Linked DNA regions of Homo sapiens: all the other regions are linked to region 3. The links are contacts of gene promoters, found by promoter capture Hi-C in human tissues and cell types (Jung and others, 2019). All regions are on one chromosome and are shown on one strand. Each heading gives the region's core, a stretch centred on a gene start or on the middle of the fragment in contact. The rest is flanking DNA. Distances are from core to core; before and after follow the strand shown.

The links. Contacts are between HindIII fragments. The study calls those that stand out against the background at their distance.
Region 1: a contact is called between a fragment that was not itself captured here and the fragment with the promoter of OR1K1 in region 3, in 1 of the 25 tissues and cell types used here (IMR-90 fibroblasts).
Region 2: a fragment that was not itself captured here is called in contact with the fragment with the promoter of OR1K1 in region 3 in 2 of the 25 tissues and cell types used here (dorsolateral prefrontal cortex and hippocampus).

What each region holds. Positions count from the first base shown.
Region 1 is chr9:122,246,940-122,249,639 of GRCh38, reverse strand. RBM18 (RNA binding motif protein 18) reads left to right here. Exons shown (of 6, transcript NM_033117.4): 4 at 2,036-2,122. Among named protein-coding and RNA genes, the nearest start is that of RBM18, 17 kb to the left of the region's middle. The HindIII fragment of the contact is 4,196 bases long and covers 1-2,700 here.
Region 2 is chr9:122,284,937-122,287,636 of GRCh38, reverse strand. It overlaps MRRF (mitochondrial ribosome recycling factor), which reads right to left. Exons shown (of 7, transcript NM_138777.5): 4 at 2,350-2,468. Among named protein-coding and RNA genes, the nearest start is that of MRRF, 21 kb to the right of the region's middle. The HindIII fragment of the contact is 3,862 bases long and covers 1-2,700 here.
Region 3 is chr9:122,798,867-122,801,566 of GRCh38, reverse strand. OR1K1 (olfactory receptor family 1 subfamily K member 1) reads right to left here and starts at 1,444. Exons shown (of 1, transcript NM_080859.1): 1 at 494-1,444. The coding sequence starts at 1,444. The coding sequence ends at 494. The HindIII fragment of the contact is 19,122 bases long and covers 1-2,700 here.

The DNA of each region.
Region 1 (2,700 bases), core at 58-2,557, 550 kb after region 3:
CTTCCTGGATTCAAGCAGTTCTCCCACCTCAGCCTCCCAAGTAGTTGGGACCACAGGCACACACCACTACCCCAGCTAATTTTTGTATTTTTTGTAGAAGCGGGGGTTCGCCATGTTGTCAGGCTGATCAAACTCCTGGGCTCAAGCAACCAGCCTGCTTCGGCCTCCCAAAGTGCTGAAATTACAGGCGTGAGCCACCATGCCCGGCCTGGGAATTGTTGCAGACAACTAAAATCAGTGATCATGTTGGGCATAGATGTTGGTTTAAAAACACTGGGTTAGGATACAAAGCCTAGTTTATATTTCTGGCTCTTTTATTTATTAACTTTGAGCAAGTCTCCTAACTTCTTTTGGCCTCAATTTTCCATCTAAGAATGGAGATTAAAAATACATATCCTTCTTACCTTATGGGAAGTTGGGAGAATAGATGAAAGTATAAAAAAAAAGTAGACATTTAATAATATTTTTAAATATATGAACTTTGAAATAATTTGTACAGGTAGGAAATTATTTTAAAAAAAACATTTAAAAATAAGATGCCCCTGCTGGCAGCTTATTACTGCTCCTACTTTGGAACTAATAGAGTGCTCTATGAGTTCTCATTCACCAAATGAAGCTTAAAGGAATAAAATATTTCTTACCTGTCACTCTAGCTTTGTGTGCTGTAGTGGGGCAAGGATGATTAGTGAATATCCAATGCCTACTACACAGTGAGAACTCAGTAAATATTTGTTAAATGTCATACTGGTAGGTTCTGGAGGAACAAGAGAATCACCAGTAAAACCAGACTGGAATGCCAACTGGCTTCTATAGCCTCTCCCGCTCCCTGGGACATCCTGTTCCTCCTCTGTTCCTTAAGGGCTTCTTCACCCTCACTAAACATGGGTTACACTTGGCTGAATGCCTCATGGATGCAAATGGGGCAAAGAAGGTTTGGCAGGATGGAAAGTACAGCCAGGTTTCCTGGGAATGACCTAGAGTGACTGTTAGCCAGCTTCAGGAATTCCTTTCAACCGTATTACTCCTCTGTCTGATGGGGAAAGGGTCAAGGAACTTTCGGCTCTGAAAACCAGGTGCATAGATTGACTCACACAGATACCTTGCTAACGGTCTCTTTGACTCACTCCTGCTTTTTCCGGCCTAGTTTCCTTGACTCCCATGCCCTTTAAAGCAATTATTCCTCACTATGAATCCAGGGAGTATGCCCTAGTCCAGGATATGGTTCCAGGGCCCTTGCGGGGAGTACAGTTTCTTGACATAGGAGGTGCTACCCTACCTAACGGAAGTGCATATATGTCTATCACCTAATAGGAACAGCACTATTACTAACATATGTTAAGTGCATATCATATACTTCATGCTTTACATTCTTTGAGTCCTCACAACCACTGAGGAATAAGTATCCATATTATCTATTAAAGATTATACATTATTTATCTGTATTTTACAGTTGACAAAGCTAGAGACACTTAAGTGACCTGCCAAATAGCATACTGCCAGCAAATGGCAGACCAGGATTTGAATTTTTGTCTGACTTTAAAAAATTCACGCCCTTAGCCAGGCGCAGTAGCTCACGCCTGTAATCCCAGCACTTTGGGAAGCCGAGGGGGCGGATCATTAAGTTGGGAGATTGAGACAGTCCTGGCCAACATGGTGAAACCCCGTCTCTACTAAAAAATACAAAAAAATTAGCCAGGCGTGGTGGTTCATGCCTGTAGTCCCAGCTATTCGGGAGGCTGAGGCAGGGGAAGCGCTTGAACCTGGGAGGCGGAGATTGCAGTGAGCCGGTATTGCACCACTGCACTCCAGAGCCTGGCGACAGAGCAAGACTCCATCTCAAAAAAAAAAAAAAAACAACAAAAAAACCATGCCCTTTTTAAAATTCTGCCTTGTAAAATTGTAAACCCTTGCCAGTTATTTACCAAAAACAATTTGTTAGAAACTCAGCCATCAAAGCTAGTGAAGCCCTGTGAGAATACATATAGCTAGTTAAGCATTTCAGTTTTTAACTAACATTTGTCCCTTTCCTGGACAGGAAGCAGAGCAAGCCATCCAGTGTCTCAATGGCAAGTTGGCCCTGTCCAAGAAGCTGGTGGTGCGATGGGCACATGCTCAAGTAAAGGTACGTCTGAGAGGCTAGAAAGACATCAAGCCTCATCCTAAACAAGCCTTCTGAAAGATGGTTGTCCACTTACCCGTTTATGTCCCAATCTCTTCACACCTGAAACAGCCATACTTCAGTCTCCTACTTGTATCTACCATGTGTGTTGCCCGATTTTTCTTTTGAAAACATCTCGGGAGGGATTAAGTTCCTTGGTTATTTCTCTCCACATGCCCACTGATCCTGGTTTTGATTTTCTCATGTGGCTAATGTGTACGCTCAGACCTCTGTCATTTCTTCGGGTGGAGGGTTCTTTGGAGGAAAATATATATTTATTTTTAAAATCAGTTGCTCTAGGCATTATTAGACTCTTCCCAGCCTTTGACTCTGTGGAGATTTGAATTTGTTTATTCTAAACGCTTGAGACATGGGTAGTTTCTGTGAGTGCTTAAAGCACTGGCATCTCCTTACTCCAGAAATCTTGGGAGTTACTAGGGTGTGGGTTCGTGGGACTTTGCAGTGTCTGTATTGTGTCTAAGTCCTGAGAAGTAGCAGGCTGCCCTGTTCATTCTGTAATTAGTCTCCTGGGAGAATGCGCT
Region 2 (2,700 bases), core at 47-2,546, 510 kb after region 3:
AGATGCTCTGGTGGCCAATCAGGTGCTTCTTCTGTGAATGCCATTTGCTATTTAATAAAAGAAGTGGCTGGCTCTGAAAAGCAATCTGCCTGATGAGGTCTTCAAGCTGTGTAATTAGGAGGCTATTCCCTAAATTGGCCCACAGTGCCTACGGGATTAGATGAACAAGGAGGAGAGGCCTCAGTGGTTCAGAGGGGCCCAGAAAGAGAAACAGTTGACAGTTCCCTTTTCATCAATTTCTCTGTTCCTCACTAACATCAGAAATGAGTGCCTCCCTTTTATCAACCTAATAACAGGTATTCATCCATTCAAGGAAAATTTACCAAATGGTGCCATGTGCCAGGCACTGTTTGGTGTTGGACACAATGAGCAAATTAGACATTCCTACATTCCAAGCTTACACTCTAGTAAAAGTGAGATGAAAAATAAATGTGTACACAAATGTACACTAGTAATAAGTGCAATAAAGAAAAAGAATTGTGCTGTATAGGAGAACTTAGTGTGGAAGAATAATTTAGATTGGAGAGGTCAGGAAAGGCTTCCTTAAGAAAGTGACGTTTAAGCCATGATCCAAAATATAAGTAGCAATTAGCCATGCAACAGTGTTCCATGCAATGGGAACAGGATATGCAAAGGCTCTAAGGATGCAAAGGGTTTGGTGTGTTTGAGGAACTGAAAGACCAATGTGGCTAAAGCATTGTACAAGGATGACAGTGGCACAAGACTGGCAAAACTGAAAAAACAGAGGCAAGATCAAGCAAAGCCATCTAGGCCATAATGAAGATTTTGGACTGTTTCTTGGCCACAGTGAGGATTTTGGACTGTTTCTTAAAGATTGCTAGAAGCCACCAATAAAGGCAAAGCATGGGAATGACAACTGACAAAATCTTTTATACATATATTTTTTTTTCCTTGTTTATTTAAGATACAAGGTCTTGCTCTGTCACCCAGGCTGCAGTGCAGTGGCATGATCATAGCTCACTGCAGCTTCAAACTCCCGGACTCAAGCGGTCCTTCCACTGCAGTTTCCTGAGTAGCTAGCACTACAGGTGTGTGCCATCACACCTCACTAATTTTTTTATTTTTGAAATTTTTGTAGAGCCAGGGTTTCACTATGTTGCCCTGGCTGGTCTTGAACTCCTGGCTTCAAGTGATCCTCTAACCTTAACCTCCCAAAGTGCTGGGATTACAGGCATGAGCCACCACGCCTGGCACAATATATATTTTTCAAAAACTCATTCTGGTTATAGTATGGAGAATGGAGTAGGGGAGTGGTAACAGCACACCCACAGGTGTGCCTGGCCCATTAGCTATCAGAGCCCTTTGATTTGAAACAGTGTGTTCACAGCAAGGGCTTTCCCTTTCTCCTATCTCTAGCCTAGTTTGTCAAATACAACAGGTCCAACCTTGGTCTATGACTTTGGAATACAACTACTGAAATAGACAATAAGAACAGGAGGATTCCTTCACCTTATATTAGCAGATGAGGAAATGGAGGCCCAGAGAGTGAAGCAACTTGCCCAAGGTCAAACAGCCAGTTGGTGGTAGAGATGGGACCGGATTCCAGGTACTCTAAGACTCCTAATCCAGGCCAATTCCTAGTGGACCAATAACAAAAAGCCCAATTACCTTCTTCAACTACACTTAAAATCATAAAGCTTCAAAGATGCAATGACCTAATACAACCCACCTTCCAGTTTTGGAAGCACTGTGCTCCATGCAATATTCTGCAATGGTCAGTCTAGTATAAAAGGACTTCCTGGAGGGTCTGCTCCAAATACTAATGCAGAGGTCACAAATTGGTGGCCCTCAGGCCACATTTGGCCCATTAAAGTATTGTTTTATTTGCTTCATAGTCTTTAAAAAAAAAACTCAATTAGTCATCAACATTTACAGAATAAAGATGTCACATAAAAATTTGTGTTACTAGCTTCTTCTGGAAATAAAAATCGTAGTATCAGGTAACACTGATTACCAGGCCTACATTGTGCCTGGCAATGATCAGCAGGAGCTGGGCAGAGGCATTCCACTCACACAAGGTACAGGCTCTCCAGCTCACCAGAGCCTTTTCACGCTGGCCAAGCACCAATCACTGCATCTCCAGTATTGTTTTTCTTAGATGGGACCCGTTTGGGTATTCAAACAACTTACCTAGCCTCTGTAGCATCTGAGTTTAACAGAAAAGGAATCTGGCAACAGGAAAAGAGCTTTGCCTTATCCTTAAGTTCTCTTTATTATGTCTTCTCTCTTGTTTCATCCTAAGCTGAAGGAACACTTCCTCCTGATATGACCCAGTCTCCTCCATTCCAAAAGAGACCACGGAGAGAGATTTTAGCAAGGCCATCTTACCTCTGGGAAGCTGGCCATATTCACCAAAATCAGCTGTGGCGACTTCATGGAGATCTGGCTAATCTGGTTTAAAGCAAGCTTCCCGTCAGCAGTTACCACAGCAATCTTGTCAAGGGATCCTAAAAGAAAAATTACAGAGTTTTAGAATTCCAAAGAACCTTAGTAGCCCCAAATCTAAGTCCTATCTAATTCAGATTCAGGTTGGATGCAGTGGCTCATGCCTGTTATCCCAGAGCTTTGGGAGTGAAGTGGGAGGAATGCTTGAGGGCAGTAGTTTGAGACCAACCTGCGCAAAACAGCAAGACCACATCTCTACAAAAACATTTTTTTTTAATTAGCAGGTATGGTGGC
Region 3 (2,700 bases), core at 195-2,694:
GCTGGAGCTCAGTGGCACAATCTTAGCTCACTTCAATCTTCATCTTTTGGGTTCAAGTGATTCTCTTGCCTCAGTCTCCCGAGTAGATGGGATTACAGTTGTGCGCCGCCATGCTTGGCTAATTTTGGTATTTGTAATAGAGACAGGGTTTCGCCATGTTGGCCAGGCTGATCTTGAACTCTCGACCTCAGGTGATCCACCACCTCGGCTTCTCAAAGTGCTGGGATTACAGGCGTGAGCCGCTGTGCCTGGCTGGAAAGTCACTTCTTATCTTTGAGCCTAAAGACAAATTTTCTTGTGTGTAAAACCGGATCATAATATCTGCATCCTGGGTGGCTGTGGGAATAAAATGAGATCAGGCAAGGATCTGCTTCCGGGCAGGTGCTCAGGAAATGACAGCTGTTATGATTTTTGAGCATAGCAGAGGACAGAGGGTCACGTTCAACAGTTGCCAGTGTGGGTGATGCAGTCTGTCCTCAGTGGGGTCCTGCCCTCAGGAGTCACTAGCTGAGATCCTTCGCCCAATGAGAAGGGCTCGGAGTGCCCCCTGTACATCGCGATTCCAGAGGCTGTAGATGATGGGGTTCAGCATGGGGGTGACTACAGTGTACATGACAGTGGCCACACGGCCCCACTCTGCCTCGCGTCGGGATGTGGCCTGGAAGTAGACTGCAATGACTGTCCCATAGAAGAGGCTCACCACAGCCAGGTGGGAGCCACAGGTGGACACAGCCCGGAGCCTCCCAGAGGCTGAGGGCAGCTGGAGCACGGCAGCTGCGATGGCCCCATAGGAGGCGAGGATGAGCAGGAAGGGAGTGACCACCACTGCGGCGCCCTCGGTGAAGATGAGCAGCTGGATGTGGTGGGTGTCAGAGCACGAGAGCCTTAAGAGAGGCTGGTGGTCACAGAAGAAGTGGGGCACTTGGTGGGAAGCACAGAAGGACAAGCGAGCCATGAGCAGGATATACAGGAGGGAGTGGACGTGGGACACCAGCCATGCCATTCCCACCAGGGCTGCGCACATGGCCCGGGACATCCTCGTGGCATAGGGGAGGGGGTGCCGGATGGCCACGTAGCAGTCATAGGCCATGGCCGCCAGAAGACAGCTATCAGTTACCCCCAGGGCAAAGAAGAAGTACATTTGGGTCAGGCAGCCAGCCAGCGAGATGGAGTGGTCATGGGCCAACAAGTTGGCCAACATCTTGGGCACAGTGACGGAGGCGAAGCAGAGGTCAGCAAAGGACAGGTGGGCCAGCAGGAAGTACATGGGTGCATGAAGGGCTGGACTGGCCTGGATGGCAGCCACAATGAGTCCATTACCCAGGAGGCTGGCCACATACAAGAGCAAGAACAGCACAAAGAGAGGCCGCTGCTGTCCAGGACTTGTTGTCAGTCCCAATAAAACGAATGAGATTCCCTCTGAAGACTCATTGGCAGCCTCCATGGCAGGCTGGTTATTCGCCTGGAACCTGAAGGGCTCCTTTCTATTGATGGGTCACCTCCCCGATGTCTAACGGAAAAGGTGAGGGGATAAATTGTTCAAGGCTTCCTGGCCATGGGAAAATATCAAGAGTTTAGAGTCAGGTAGCCCTGGCCCTAGGCACAGGTATGACTATGGGCAAGTCATTTCACCTCCCTGAACCTTCTTCCTTTCTGGGCCTTAGATTTTCTTTTCTTTTTTTTTTTTTTTTTTTGAGATGGAGTCTTGCTCTGTCGCCCAGGCTGGAGTGCAGTGGCACGATCTCAGCTCACTGCAAGCTCCACCTCCTGGGTTCACGCCATTCTCCTGCCTCAGCCTCCCGAGTAGCTGGGACTACAGGCGCCCGCCATCACGCCCGGCTAATTTTTTTTGTATTTTTTAGTAGAGACGGGGTTTCACCGTGTTAGCCAGGATGTTCTCGATCTCCTGACCTTGTGGGGCCTTAGACTTTCAACCTGCGAAATAAGAGAATTGAAGTAACTCATCTGCAAGGTCACGTCCAACTTTGATAGTTTGTGATTTAAGCAAAAATAGAACAAAAGATATTGCACAAGATGTAGATCAGGGAAGGAGGAAAATATGAAAGAAAAGATGAAACAGAGTGAGGTTCGACACAGAAAGATCTGGCCAATGGACATTTATTTTGGAAAAGAAAAAATGAAACCAAACCAAGATGGAGGAGAGAAACATAAGAAAGAAACTCTAGAAAAAAAATCTGAAGAGCACATATGTTTACATTGAAATGAATATGAACTCACAACACCTAGACACAAATAGTGGAATTTTAGAACACTGGAAATGAAGAGGAGACTCCAGTACTTCCTAAGGGCATGGGGTGCAATGAACTGATGATATCCATGTAATTAGATTGCCATCAAATGTTTCAATTCAACAGTAGATTATAGAACAGTTTAACAATATTCAAATTCTGAAAAAAAGCATTTCGAACTTGGAATTCTTCACTCAGCAAAAATACTACTCAAGTGTGAGTAAAGAATACAGATATTTTCAGACTTAAAACACAAAACAAGGCCGGGTGCAGTGGCTCGTGCCTGTAATCCCAGCACTTTGGGAGGCCAAGGTAGGAGGATCACCTGAGGTCAGGAGTTTGAGACCAGCCTGGCCAATGTGGTGAAACCCCATCTCTACTAAAAAAAAAAATACAAAAATTAGCCAGGTGTGGTGTCACGTGCCTGTAATCCCAGCTACTTGGGAGGCTG